Linked DNA regions of Homo sapiens: all the other regions are linked to region 2. The links are contacts of gene promoters, found by promoter capture Hi-C in human tissues and cell types (Jung and others, 2019). All regions are on one chromosome and are shown on one strand. Each heading gives the region's core, a stretch centred on a gene start or on the middle of the fragment in contact. The rest is flanking DNA. Distances are from core to core; before and after follow the strand shown. Region 1 holds the start of SIK1 (salt inducible kinase 1). Region 2 holds the start of PDXK (pyridoxal kinase). Region 3 has its middle 23 kb from the start of TRAPPC10. Region 4 has its middle 4.2 kb from the start of TRAPPC10. Region 5 overlaps TRAPPC10 (trafficking protein particle complex subunit 10).

Region 1 (2,700 bases), core at 1-2,500, 290 kb before region 2:
GAACTAAAAACGGTTACTATTTACCCACCACGACAATCAAGCCTGGAGCAGTGAATCTGCATGGGGTCCACCCGCCAAAGGTCGGGTCGCCCCGGGTCCAGTGGGGAGGCCCCGCCGGCTGGGTCCCACCGCCCCCACGCACCTGCGTTTTGGTGACTCGATGCCGCGCCAGCTTCACCACCGCGAAGTTGCCTTTGCCCAGGGTCCGCTCGATGTCGTAAAAACCCACCCGGAGGGGCTTCTGCTGGCCCTGACCCTGGCCCGCGGGGTCCGCGCTGAACTCCGACATGATAACCATGGCTCCGCGCGCACCTGCGGGGCCGCACAGAGCTCAGAGCCCACCAGCGCCCCCGCCGCCCGCGGTCGGCTCCATCCGTGCCCGCGGAGCCCCCAGTCCCCACGGGACGCAGGGACCTGCTCCCACGCCTGTCGCCCCCACTCTATCCACGGGCCCCTCCAGCCCCGTGGGAGGTGTGGACCCGCCCCCGCCGCCCGCTCCACCCGGACCCCCGACCCTCTTGAGCCCCGCGGGGCGCACGGACCCGCTCTCATAGAGGCCCCTGCCGCCCGAGTCCGGTTCCGTCCCGATCCCGGGACCCCCTGAGCCGGGATTCCACACTCGCCTCCCGCCGCCCGCTGTCGGTTCCGTCCCCACCCTCGACCCCTTTAGCACCTCTGGGCGCGGACCCGCTCCCACACCTGGCCCTGCCACCCGAGGTCGGCTCGATCCGGATCCCAGGACCGTCCCCTGCCCCGCTCCCACACCCTGCCCCCGCCGCCCGCGATCCGTCCGGTCCCCACCCCCGACATCCCAGGCACCTCGGGGATCGCGGACCCGCCCCCCACACCCGGTATCTCCGCCCGCGGTCGGCTCCAACCTGACCCCCGGCTCCCCAGCCCCTGAGCCCCGCGGACTCACTCCTACCCCGGCCCCCCAACAAAGGGGAGCCCGAGGGCGGCCAGGCCGCCAACCCCGCCCGCGAACCCCGCGCGCGCAAGGCCAGGGACCCTGCGCGGTGGCTGCAACCCCGAGCCCCGGCCCGGCGCCCGCGCGGAGCCCCCACGGCGGCCACCTCCGCCCGCCCGGAGCCCGCCGCTGCCGCCGCTGCCGCCGCTGCCGCCGCCTCACCTCCGCCGCCACCGGAGCGCCCAGGCCAGGAAGCCGCCCGCTCGGCCGCTGGCGCTGCTCGGGTGCCTACTGCTCCGGCTGCCGCCGCCGCTGCTGCTGCCTCCGGGGCCGCGCCGCATGTCAGCCCGGAGCCGCCGCGCTCCGCCGCACGCGGCGCCCGGCCCCGCCCCGGCCCGCCCCGGCCCGCCCCCCGTAGTCCCCGCCCCCTGCCCCGCCCCCGCCGCCCGGGCGGGGGCCGCCCATTGACGTCGCTTTGACGCCAGAGCGACGCGCGGCCGAGCGCCGGGCGGAGGGAGAGCGGGAGATCGGGCGGTTGCCAAGAGACTGGCGGCTCTGACGCGCGCGGGATGAGGCCGTTGCCCTGGCGACCGCGGGCCGGTGACGTCAGGGGCGCCCGCCGCCCGAGGCCCGCCCGCCTGCGCTCCGCCGGGCGCCCCCTCCCGGGCGCTGGGGGCACTGCGGGCGGCCCCACCGCCGAGGGCGCGCCCGCCCCTCCACGCTCGGGCACTCGGGCCGGGTCCCGCGGGCGCCTTGTGCTCGCTCCCTCCAGGAGGGGACGGCTCTCGGGCAGGGGTCGCCGGCCCCTCCACGCGGCCTGCGTTCGTCCAGACTCAGAGCCTCGGGACGTGCGGGGGCCCGGGGGCCTCGCGGGCTCGCGCGTGGGGCTGGCGGCGCGGATGCCCTGGGGCGCTGCAGACCCCGAGAGGCCGCTTGCCCGCGGGGACGTCAGCCGCTTTTGCTGTTAAAATCTGAAATGTTCAGCAAGTTAGAAACTTGAAACCTAAGGAAGCGTGACCGGCCGCTCTGGAAGCCCCCGCCGCGCGGCCGGTCCCGGCCCCGGCCCTCAGCGGCGCTGGCGTCTGCGCGTCCCGGGGCTGCCCCCGCAGCATGTGGGGCTGGGACCCTCTTCCCGCGCGGGCCCCGGGCGGACGCTGCGGGCGGTGACGGAGCCAGGCCGGCCGCCTGGGTAGGGGACGGGGGCGCGGGACCACTTGCTTGCCCGTGGCCGATGCCTCATCCGAACGGAAAACGTTTTCTTCAGGGGAGACAGAGGCTGTGGGCGAAGGTATTTTTTAAGCCTGAGGACCCATTTGGGAGTTAGATTCTGGATCGAGCCTAGGGTCAGTTTTCCTTGTGTTAAATAACACTACTTCACAGAAGGGGGAACGAGAATTCAGGGGAGTTGGCACAAAACTTGGAACCCTTCTCGGGAGGCTTTCCTGCCTGGACGGACGCCTGGGAGGAGGGCCCGGAGAAACGAGGATGAGCTTCTCCTCATTCGCCCGAGGGTCTGACCACAGATTTCCCAATCGCCACACACACACACACACACACACACACACACACACACACACGGGTTGTTTGGGAGTCAGTTGGTTTTCAAAGGCTTTCAAGGAAATGAAGAGTCCCAAAGTTTTCCTTAATCGTTCAGAGTGTTTTTCTTTGTCCCAGGTTTATATACCAAGAATACGGGGGAATATTTTTAGTTCCTTTCAGCTGAACAGTGTACAACTGCCTTTTTTCCTTTTGGAGGTCCCAACACCCTGTTAATCCGCTCCTAGGAGAACTAA
Region 2 (2,700 bases), core at 61-2,560:
GGTTCATGCAATTCTCCTGCCTCAGCCTCCCAAGTAGCTGGGATTACAGGTGCACACCACCACACCCAGCTAAATTTTTGTATTTTTAGTAGAGATGGGGTTTCATTATGTTGGCCAGACTGGTCTTGAACTCCTGACCTCTTGATCCGCTCAACTCAGCCTCCCAAAGTGCTGGGATTATAGGCGTGAGCCACCGCGCCCGGCCAATGTTAGCTATTATTAATGGACAATTATGACTAATTATGAAGTACTTTCTTTTAAAAGCCTAGATCTCTAAGTAATGTCTTCCTCCCTCAGTCCTCAGCACCCGCCTGGTCGGGCATTGGGTCTCACCAAGCTACAGAGCCCTAGGTGCGCTGTGTTAGGTCACCAAGACTTTAGTCTGGTGATACTGACCCCAGGGCCCCAAATCACCATGTCTGCAAGTCTGGAACCCAAAGGCCTCCGTTCCCCGGGGTGGTGCAGGGAAGCCGCAGGGAGTGCGTCAGCTGTGGAGAGCGTAGGGGTGGGAAGTGAAGGCTGTGGGGTCCCCCAGGGGGTCAGGTTCGTCCTCGAAGGCAGGCCCTCCACAGGAAGACCTGGTTGGGGTGGGATCGGACACGCGGCCCAGACCCAGGCACCTGTGGATGGACGGCCGGGCATGTGGCCATCGGCTGGGGGCCTCTGCAGGCCGCGCCACCAGAGTGGGCACTCAGGGTCCGCAAGGGTCTGGGGCGCCCCCAGAGAAGCCCGCCGCCCCAGGCCGGTGCGGAGTTGACTGGGTCCCCCCGGCCCCGTGTCTGTCAGCTCCCGCGCGGCCCCTGGGAAGGGACGCGGATCGGATGCGGGCTCCGGGCCCTGCAGGCAGTTGAGAGCGCGGTTCCCTTGGGTATCCGGGGTCCGGGGTCACTTTCGCGCCTCCGCACTATTCCCACGCCCGCGCGCACTCTCGTGGCCATCCGCGTTGCGAGAGTGTCGCGCCCGGAGGTCAGGGGCGTGGAGCCCGGGCCCCCGAGTCTCCCCTGCGTGCGGCGGGGCGCGGGGCGCGGGGCGCGGGGCGCAGGGCTGAGGCGGAGCACAATGGTTGAATGAATGAATGAACGAACGAATGAACGGCGCTGCAGAGCCCTCTCCAGGCGGAATGAAAGTGCAAACCCAGCGTTTCGGGCGGCAGAGTGGCGGGGGCCACCTGGCGCGGCCGCGCGGCCAGGGTCCGGTTTCGCTTCCTCCCAGCCCGGGGGCGGGGCCTGCGTGGCTGTCCCCGCCCCGGTCCGCCCCCGGCCAGCCCCCGGCGCCGCGCGGAACTCGCGGGTTCGGAGCCGCCCGCTGAGGTCAGAAGGAGGCGTCTGCGCTGATCGGGTCCGCCGCGCGCCAGAGCCAGAGTCGCAGCCGAGGGGAGCCGGGGCCGGAGCCCGAGCCCGAGCCGAGCCGGAGCCCGAGCGAGCGGCGGAGACCGTGCCCCCGCCTCGGCCCCGCGCCGCCGCGGCCAGGCCCGGCATGGAGGAGGAGTGCCGGGTGCTCTCCATACAGAGCCACGTCATCCGCGGCTACGTGGGCAACCGGGCGGCCACGTTCCCGCTGCAGGTACGCATCCGCCCGCAGCCCGGGCTTACGTAACCCGAGCCCGTGACCTTGGCGGGGCTGCCCGAGACGAGCCTCAGTTCCCCGAGGGAGGCTCGGGAGCTGCGGGCAGAGCCTGGCGCGGGCGCCCTGGAGGCAGGCGCGGGATGAGCCTCCCGCTCTGCTTGGCTTGCGGGGGCGGAAGCGGAGGGCTGAGCGCTCTGCGGGCCCCTGCGGGTGGGACGGGTCCGGCGTCGGGGTACGCGGGTAGGAGGGAGCCCTGTGCACCAGCTATGGCGCAGCCGCTCGTCCTCGCCCCTTCCCGCCGACCGGGCCAACTGCCGCGGGGGCGGGCGGGCGGTGCGGCTCCCGGAGGCGAGGAAATGTCGCAGAGCCCCGAGGAGTCCCGGAGCAGTCACGCGAGCCGGGACCTTGCCCCGCTGGAACGCAGAAGCGGCCGTGGAGCTCGAGACGCTCGCGCGCTCACCTCCTGGGCCCCTGTGCGTGGGGAAGTCAGGAAGAAGACGCCGAGTGAGGTCACGGTGCCCACGAGGGTGGATTCCCCTCGGCCTGACCACGCCAGGAGGTGGCCGAAGGGAAGAGGGTGGGGCAGGGGCTGCTCTGCACCCTCTAGCAGAGCGGCATCCCTGCAGGTGTTTGCTCTGACGAGGAGAAGCCCCAGAGAGCAGTTCGGGACTGTGCGGATTGGCTTTAGGGAGCCAGCTTTTAAAACGCGTTGGCCCACGGCCTCCTGGTTGCAGCTAAGTGGCCCGTGGAGGGGTAGGAGAGGCCTGGGTGCAGTGGCGTGGGTGTCACGCAGGGCCGAGGCAGAACCAGGACGACGGGCACTTCCTGGCCTTGTCGAGTCAGCAGGAGGGCTGGGGGTGCCCTGCCGGGTCGTGCTCTCCTGTGCTGCCCACCTGCGGCCTGGTCACTGGGGACGGGAGCAGGTATGCCTGGTCCCTGTGCTGGGCCCCACGGGATGTAAAGAAGGGCCACCTGGGCACGGCGGGGCCTGCGGTGCGGGCTGGCCTGGGAGGAGGACAGGAAGAGGGGAGCAGAGCTTCAGTGGAATTTGAGGGCTGACCTAGGCGTGCCCCCAGGAGGACCAAGCTGAGCAGAGTTGAGCGTGGAAAGGCAGGGGGTTCGAGTCCGAAGTAA
Region 3 (2,700 bases), core at 153-2,652, 270 kb after region 2:
AATAAGCTAAGCTGAAGAGTCTGGGTGTCCACATGCTCCTGGGAATGGCCCTGGCAACCTTGGTGACATGCTCTCTGCTCCGGGGCTGCCTCCTTCCCTAATGGCATCAGTGAGGGTGACAGGTCCATGCTGGTGCTTAGCCCAGCTCCTGAGAAGCTGGGAAGGCCTGGCTCAAAGTCCTGCGTCCAGATGCCATTTATTTTTTAAAATATATCCTGAAGTCAGAGCACCCAGAATTTTGCATGATGTTCTGTTGTTTTCTCGGGAGATGAAAGTGAAGTGCCTGGTGCCACTTGGTATGGGGATGTCATGGGTGGGTCAGGCCTTGCCCTCTAACAAGAGGGACTGACTTGCCTGAACCCCACTTCGCCTGTTTGAACACAAGTGCTCACGGGCACTGGGGGGCAGCCATGCAGACCCCTTCGGACTTCATCACCCCCAGCATCACAGGCATCTGGCTCACCCAGGAGAGGGGCCAAGGTTAACCATGAGGCCCATTGCCTGCCTTTATTGGCCCAGATCCCACCTCCGCTTCACCCAGAAGCTCAGTACGTAGGAGTCAGTCCCTGCCACCTGACATTCTGGGACATGTGAGTGTGTACACATGTGCATGCATGCACACACCATGTGTGTGGGGACCTTCATAGCCATACGCATGCACACATGTACACACGTCCCAGCACACACACGGGCACACCTGAAGAATAAGGGGCAGCGTTAGGAAGTGGGCTTGGGAAACCATCCTCTTCATGTCTCTTCTTGTTTGTTTGTTTGTTTTTGAGACGGAGTTTCGCTCTGTCACCCAGGCTGTGGAGTACAATGGTGTGATCTTGGATCACCGCAACCTCTGCTTCCCGGGTTCAAGCGATTCTCCTGCTTCAGCCTCCCAAGTAGCTGGGATTACAGGCACCTGCCACCATGCCCAGCTAATTATGTATTTTTGGTAGAGACAGGGTTTCTCCATGTTGGTCAGGCTGGTCTCGAACTCCTGACCTCAGGTGATCCACCTGCCTCGGCCTCCCCAAGTGCTTGGAATACAGGCGTGAGCCACCACAGCTGGCCTTCTTCACGTCTCTTCTGAGCATAGTGCCTGAGAACCCGGAATTGTCCAGGTGGCTCACACAGCAGCAGGGTTCATGGAGATAAAAGCCCTTCTTGAAGAAAGTGGCCCCCCAGGGCTAAGGAACTTGATGAAGAAACCAAACAGTCCCGTGACGTCTTAGCAAGCTAGCAACGTGGCCTGAGCTTTGCTTTGCTGTTGGATGTGAGCTCTTCCACTGCAGGCGGCCTGCACCTGGGCTGGGCAGGAACAAGTCCAACCGCAGGTACCCTGGACGTGAGCCTTGATCGTCCCACGTGTGGCCAGGGGGCCTGTGAGGGTGCACGTGCACACACATGCACACACAGACACACACGTGCACGTACACCAGCAGGTGCATGCCCTGCCGCTGAACCCCTGGGGGAGGGACAGGCCCAGTCACAGGGGCAGGCACCAGAGGACAAGGCCACGGAGGGCTCCGCATGGCTTCGGCTGCTGCCCTGCAGTCGGTCCCAGCCTCATAGCACTTGCCAGGTGGAGCCGCTCCGAAGTCTTAGGATCCAGGGATGGGAAATGCCAGCAAGGTCACATGTGTGACCTCACTTCACAGCTGCTGGCGCAGCCTCTGCTTGAACCCAGCCAGATCCCAGCGTGCCTCTACTGTCTGAATTGGCCCATTCCATCGATCACAGATGGGGAGCACAAGTGTGTTTCCGTGGGACAGTGTGTTACGGGGGAGGCTTGGATTTGGGGGTCTGGAGGCCTCTAGATGAAAACCCAAAACTCACTCCTTAGGACCTGTGTGGCCCAGGCCAAGAAGGTTCTTAGCCTCCATGCCCTTCCGTGTTCTAGCCTGTAAGGTGGGGATGGTCATCAGGACGATCAGCGTACCTCCTGGGCTTAGGCCGTGACAGGTGCTCAGCAAGTGGCTACTGTCCCGGCAGACCCGGGGGCATCCCAAACCTGCATCTGTCCTGGGCCCTGCCTGTGCCAGCATGGAGGGGAGGGGCTGTGGTAGTGGCCTTTGCTTCCTCTCCCCTTGGAACCTTTCATGAGCCCCCAGTGTCTCCTCCTCCCCATCATTCATCTTTTCCTGTCACTTCTTTCTTTTTTTTTTTTTTTTTTTTGAGACGGAGTCTCGCTCTGTCCCCCAGGCTGGAGTACAGTGGCGCAATCTCGGCTCACTGCAAGCTCCACCTCCCGGGTTCAAGCCATTCTCCTGTCTCAGCCTCCCGAGTAGCTGGGACTACAGGCGCCTGCCACCATGCCCAGCTAATTTTTTGTATTTTTAGTAGAGACGGGGTTTCACCATGTTAGCCAGGATGGTTTCAATCTCCTGACCTCGTGATCCACCCACCTCGGCCTCCCAAAGTGCTGGGATTACAGGCGTGAGCCACTGCGCCTGGCCTCCTGTCACTTCTTAAATCCTTTTGGTCTGGGTGCAGTGGTTCACACCTGTAAGCCTCACACTTTGGGAGGCCAAGGCAGAGGATCACTTGAGCCTAGGAGTTCAAGACCAGTCTGGGCAACATAGCAAGACCCCATTTCTAAAAAAAAAAAAAAAAATTTTTTTTTTAATTGGCCAGAAACTGTGGCTCATGCCTGTAATACCAGCACTTTGGGAGGCTGAGGTGGGAGGATCACTTGAGCCTAGGATTTCA
Region 4 (2,700 bases), core at 11-2,510, 290 kb after region 2:
AAAAAAAAATCTCTTATAGGTCTGCTCAGAGGGAAAATAGGCTTGCAGTCCACTTACTGCCCACGCACCAAAGGCTGCCTGGACCAGAGCCGGTGGGATTGGAGGAGGGGATTCTGCCTTTGCCTCCCTTCCTCCAGAAAGAACACTCCCTAACGTGGGAGCCCATCCAGCCGCACAACGCTGTGTCCACGTCTTCGGGAAGGGGAATGGCTAGTGTCTGTCTTCTCAGAGCAGCTGGACTCAGTTCTCTGTGAGAACAGTACAAAGACATAGATATTCCTCGGCTTGGAGTCTACACTTGGTATTGTCGGGTTTTTATTTTTTATTTACTTATTTTTTGTTTTTTGAGACAGAGTCTAGCTCTGTTCCCCAGGCTGGAGCGCAGTGGTGCAATCTCGGCTCACTGCAACCTCCGCCTCCCGGGTTCAAGCGATTCTCCTGCTTCAGCCTCCCAAGTAGCTGGGATTACAGGTGCACGCCACCACGCCTGGCTAATTTTTTGTATTTTTAGTAGAGACGGGGTTTTACCATGTTGGCCAGGCTGGTCTCGGACTCCTGACTCCTGAGGCCCACCTCAGCCTCCCAAAGCACTGGGATTACAGGCATGAGCCACCGTGCCTGGCCTCGTCAGGGTTTTTAATTATAAATTTAAATTTTATCGATTTGAGTACATGTGAAGTGGCATCTCATTTTCATTTTAACTTGCATTTCCCTGATGTCTAATGAGCGCTGAGTGTCTTTTCCTGACATAACTGGTCCTTTCTGTCTTTCTCCTGTTGTTCTTTCCCTGACTTCTTTTGGATTAGTCAGATATTTTCTATTATTTCTCTTTTCTTTATTGGCTTCTTAGCCAAACCCCTTTTGTTCATTTTTTCCCTAGTGCTTTTTCTCCTGGGCACAGACTACGTATGCCTCACATATCAAATTTAATGTAGGGTCAATATTGTATCACTTCAGTCTTCCCTCTTCATACATAACCCTTTGCATCTTGCACCTCACACCTGGAGTTCCACACTTCACAGTGTGAGGAGCTTATCAGTGGGTTACCTCTCACCATCCATCCTTCACACTGTCCTTACCTTTTACTTCTACACACACTGTAGAAGTATCACAAGCTATTGTTTGTTTTAAACAGTCAGTGGTCTCTTAAAGAAATTATGAGAAGGGCCGGGTGCAGTGGCTTATGCCTGTAACCCAGCACTTTGGGAGGCCAAGGTGGGCAGATCACCTAAGGTCAGGAGTTCAAGGCCAGCCTGGGGAAGACCCCCTGCCGTCTCTACAAAAAATTAAAAAATTAGCTGGCATGGTGGTACGTGCCTGTGGTCCCAGCTACTTGGGAGGCTGTAGTGGGAGGATGGCTTGAAGCCAGAAGACTGAGGCTACAGTGAGCCGTGACTGTGCCCCTGCACGCCAGCCTGGGCGACAGAGCAAGACCCTGTCCCCCCACCAAAACATTTTTTTTCTCTTGATCTATTTCACCAGTTTGAGTATGATATGCCTGCATGTAATTTTCTTTGTATGTGTTCTCTTCAGGTTTTGCTGAATTTCTTGATCTGTAAATCAGTATTTTTCACCACGTGTTTGGATTTGGAGCCATCATTTTGCAAAAATGTTTCCTTCCTAGACTCATACTCTCCTTCTGGAGCTCCGATCACACATGCTTTTGGCCATTTCATACTGTCCCATAGGTCTCTGAGGTTCTCTCCACTTTTCTTCAACTTTTTTCTCTTCTTCAGATTAAATAATTTCTATCCATCTGCCTTCAAGATCCCAAACTCCTGTTTTCTCCAATCTGTTAATCCAATTCAGTGAAATTTTCATTTCTGTTATTGTACTTTTCAGTTCTAGACTTTTCTTTTGATTCTTTTAGATACTTTGTTATTCTGCTGTGAATTTCTGATTCTTTACTCATTAAGACAATATTTTCATTTAATCCTTTGGACATATTATTTTTATTTATTTTGAGATGGAGTCTTGCTCTGTCACCCAGGCTGGAGTGCAGTGGCACTATCTTGGCTCACTGTAACCTCCACCTCCCGGATTCAAGCGATTCTCCTGCTTCAGCTTTCCGAGTAGCTGGGGCTACAGGCGTGCGCCACCACACCCAGCTAATTTTTGTGTTTTTAGTAGAGATGGGGTTTCACCATGTTGGCCAGGCTGATCTCAAACTCCTGGGCTCAAGTGATCTGCCCACCTCGGCCTCCCAAATTTCTGGGATTACAGGTGTGAGCCACCGTGCCCAGCCTCCTTTGGACATATGTAGAGCTGCTTTAGAATCTTTGTAAATACAGAATCTGGTTCATTGTAGGGGGATTGGTTTCTGTTAACTGCTTTTTTTTTTTCTTAACTATGGCTTACGTTTTCCTCTTTCTTTGTATGTTTAGTGATTTTTGTTTTTTTAGTGTATATTCAACACTGATAAATAACAAATGAGGGAGACTCAGGGTGCTCTTCCACTGAAAAATCCTGACTTTCGTTCTAGTTTGTAGTTCCATTACTGGACGTACCATGCTGGGCTGTGTAGGCTTAGCTTTAGGCTCTGTTTACTGAGCAATGTCCCAGGTGTCTCCCAGGCCCCTCTTACTTGGCAGGACTTAACCTCCAAACTCTGACCGTCTTGTGGATCGGGTCAGGGTTTTGCTTTAGACGTTGTTAAGGCGGGCCTGGAGTAGTCCTTATTCTAGGGGAGGGACTGGCAAC
Region 5 (2,700 bases), core at 113-2,612, 350 kb after region 2:
ACAGGCGTGAGCTATTGCACCCAGCCGGCAGATTTTAAATAAATAGGTTCAAGAAAAATTTAGTGAATTGATGGTTCTGGGTCCACTGGATATCCATATATAAAAACAAATCTTGATCTCACCCCATAAACAAAATTAATTCCAGGTGGAGTTTTGATCTAAACATGAAAAATAAAATAAGAAAACTCTTGAAGATAACTTGGGAAAATGTCTTTGGGACCTTAAGGTTGGCAAATATTCCTTAAATAGGACATGAAACCTTTATGGTTATGCACCAGCCGTGAAGGAAGAGGGTCCTGCATTAGACTACGTAAACATCAGTGCTTCTCTTCACTGAAAGGTACTCTGAAGGGAGTGAAAAGGCCCTCCGCAGCTTGGAAGAGTACAACCAGTATATATAGACAAGAAAGGGCCCTTACTCCAGGGCGTACTGTGAAGAACTCACATACATCAATGCAGAAAGACTGACAAACCAGTAGAAAAACAGGCAAGAGAGGAAATCCAAATGGCCGATAAACATGAAAAGGGGCTCAGTCTCATGAATCATAGCAAAATGCAAACTGAAGCCATTATTAATGAAGTACCAGCACACACCACCAGAATGGCCAGGATGGAAAGGCTTTCCTCGGGTATCAGTGGGAGGGTGGAGATGCTGGCGCTCATTCACTGATGGTAGTGTGCATCACTGGGACCACTTTGGAAGGCTGTTTGCGATATCTAATGGGTATCGCCATTACAACACATGCCCCGTGACCCAGCACATCCACCCCTGGTGTGTACAGATACATGCACACACACATGCATCAGAAGGCAAGTACACAGAGATACCTGTGGCACCCGTGAGTCATTGGAGCTGCAAACGGGGAAGAACTCAAATGTTCATCTTGTCCAAGGGATGACAACGTTGCACCGTGGCCCTGTAGTGTGCTAGGGTACAGTGATGAACGTGAATGGGTCGTAGTGGATGACTCTAACCAACCTGAAGTTGAGCTAAAGAAGTTAGACACAAGAGAAGGCATACTTTTTTTTTTTTTCTGAGATGGAGTCTTGCTCTGTTTCCCAGGCTGGAGTGCAGTGGCGTGATCTTGGCTCACTGCAACCTCTGCCTCCCGGGTTGAAGCGATAAGAGAGGGCATACTTTTTGATTCCTTGTGTCTGAAGTTCACGGTGAAGCTACACCAGTCTGCTGTGAGCTCTCTGGCAGGTGGAGGGGCTGGTGACTGGCAGGGAGTTCCAGCGGGAGCTGCCTTCACGGGAGGCATAGCAGGCGTTCACCTAGGACTCATGTACCTTCCAGTGTGTGGGTTGCACTCAAGTGGTAGGGGTATCAAAAGAGAGAAGAACAAGAATGCCTTTAATTTTATACTTGGAAGTGGCAAGATGGCACTTGCCATTGCTAATACAGCAATCAGGAGAGGAGGAGGGACTTTAAGGAAAATTAATATAAATTAAGAATTTGTTTAAGAAGTCTGTTATTCACAAAAGATGATATCCAGATGGCCAAGAGGTATCTGATGGCCCATTAGGGAAATGTGAGTTTTCTGGAGACGGTGAGGCCACCACCCGGTTCCAGAGTGAGGTGACCAAGCTGCACGCTCTGCCATTCAGTCTCAGGCTCTCAGGGCAGAGCGGAGGCTTGGTCTTTGTTGTGTTGGGTGCTGTGGCATGCTGGGTGGCAGATGCCACCATAGAGGCATGGCCTTCGTGCTGTTGGCTGAGGTGCCCATTTTCTGTGTCGGCCACCATTTAGGAGCAAGGGGCTGACATTTGTTTGGACGACTCAAAGCCATGAAGCCATGGCTGCAGAACAATTGCTCTTTTCCAGAGTTTGTGAGACTCTTGTTTTTTATTCTCAAGCTGCACTCTAATGGGTAAAATAAGCCAGGGTGGCTCTGGCACTCTCTGTCCCCTTCCCCCGAGCTCTTGCGTCTCTGCTGCAGGGATGCTGGTGGGAGAAGAGTGCTGGCACTGCCTGTGTTCTGCTGTGAGTAGCCTGGCGCACTTGGGCCTGGGGGCGTCTTCGGACCCTGAGAAGTCATCCCTCCGTTGAGGCAGGGGTAACATTGCAAATAGCTTTACCCATAGTAGCCAAACACTGGAAACAACCCAGACACTTGATAGGAGTGGATAAATAAACTGTGGCCAACTTGTAGAAAGGTTTAATAAGCAGCAGTGAAAAAGAACAGGCCGACAGACTCAGCAAGGTTGAATCTTAAAGATACTGTGTGGAATTAAAGAAGCCCCATGCACAAAGGAGGACATGCTGTGTGATTTCATTATATGAAGTTCACAAATCAGCCAGAAGGAATTGATGGTGGCCGAAGTCAGGAGCCGGGTGCCTCTTTGGGGTGGATCTTGACCGGGAAAAGGGACTTGAGAGAACCTTCTAGGATAATTTTATTTCTTGATTAGGTGGTGGTTACATTTGTAAAAATCATCGACCTCTAAATTTAGGGTTTGTGCCCTTCACATACCTTGTTGTATGCATTTTGCCACTTGTTTTTTCAAAGCAATGAAAAAGTATCACTGCAATTAGGTTTTAAATAAATTTGTTTCGTTAACATGTCTGGAAGTCTTAGATGTCTTACTGTGGAAGGTCTCGCTGCTGTGGAGCCCACCTCTTTCAGGCCCTCTAAAGTATAGAGAAGAAGCAGAGTGCTCGGCCCCCTTTGGGGTGTTACCTGGGGTTTGGGTGGGAGC

What was found. The method cuts DNA at HindIII sites, captures the fragments that hold promoters and counts their contacts. A contact is called where the count stands out against the background at its distance.
Region 1: the fragment with the promoter of SIK1 here is called in contact with the fragment with the promoter of PDXK in region 2 in 4 of the 25 tissues and cell types used here (IMR-90 fibroblasts, dorsolateral prefrontal cortex, lymphoblastoid cells and 1 more).
Region 3: a fragment that was not itself captured here is called in contact with the fragment with the promoter of PDXK in region 2 in 2 of the 25 tissues and cell types used here (dorsolateral prefrontal cortex and lymphoblastoid cells).
Region 4: a contact is called between a fragment that was not itself captured here and the fragment with the promoter of PDXK in region 2, in 3 of the 25 tissues and cell types used here (dorsolateral prefrontal cortex, lymphoblastoid cells and spleen).
Region 5: a fragment that was not itself captured here is called in contact with the fragment with the promoter of PDXK in region 2 in 2 of the 25 tissues and cell types used here (dorsolateral prefrontal cortex and lymphoblastoid cells).

What each region holds. Positions count from the first base shown.
Region 1 is chr21:43,425,881-43,428,580 of GRCh38, forward strand. It overlaps SIK1 (salt inducible kinase 1), which reads right to left and starts at 1,251. Exons shown (of 14, transcript NM_173354.5): 1 at 1,130-1,251; 2 at 143-312. The coding sequence starts at 298. The HindIII fragment of the contact is 13,239 bases long and covers 1-2,700 here.
Region 2 is chr21:43,717,819-43,720,518 of GRCh38, forward strand. It overlaps PDXK (pyridoxal kinase), which reads left to right and starts at 1,311. Exons shown (of 11, transcript NM_003681.5): 1 at 1,311-1,563. The coding sequence starts at 1,477. LOC124905032 (a long non-coding RNA gene) reads right to left here and starts at 730. Exons shown (of 2, transcript XR_007067896.1): 1 at 397-730. RefSeq lists enhancers at 613-662, 2,004-2,700 and silencers at 813-1,602, 1,643-1,952, 2,110-2,299. The HindIII fragment of the contact is 22,908 bases long and covers 1-2,700 here.
Region 3 is chr21:43,987,626-43,990,325 of GRCh38, forward strand. No RefSeq gene overlaps it. Among named protein-coding and RNA genes, the nearest start is that of TRAPPC10, 23 kb to the right of the region's middle. The HindIII fragment of the contact is 8,875 bases long and covers 1-2,700 here.
Region 4 is chr21:44,006,800-44,009,499 of GRCh38, forward strand. No RefSeq gene overlaps it. Among named protein-coding and RNA genes, the nearest start is that of TRAPPC10, 4.2 kb to the right of the region's middle. The HindIII fragment of the contact is 5,883 bases long and covers 1-2,700 here.
Region 5 is chr21:44,068,876-44,071,575 of GRCh38, forward strand. All of the region lies in intron 7 of TRAPPC10 (trafficking protein particle complex subunit 10), which reads left to right. Among named protein-coding and RNA genes, the nearest start is that of PWP2, 37 kb to the right of the region's middle. The HindIII fragment of the contact is 4,440 bases long and covers 1-2,700 here.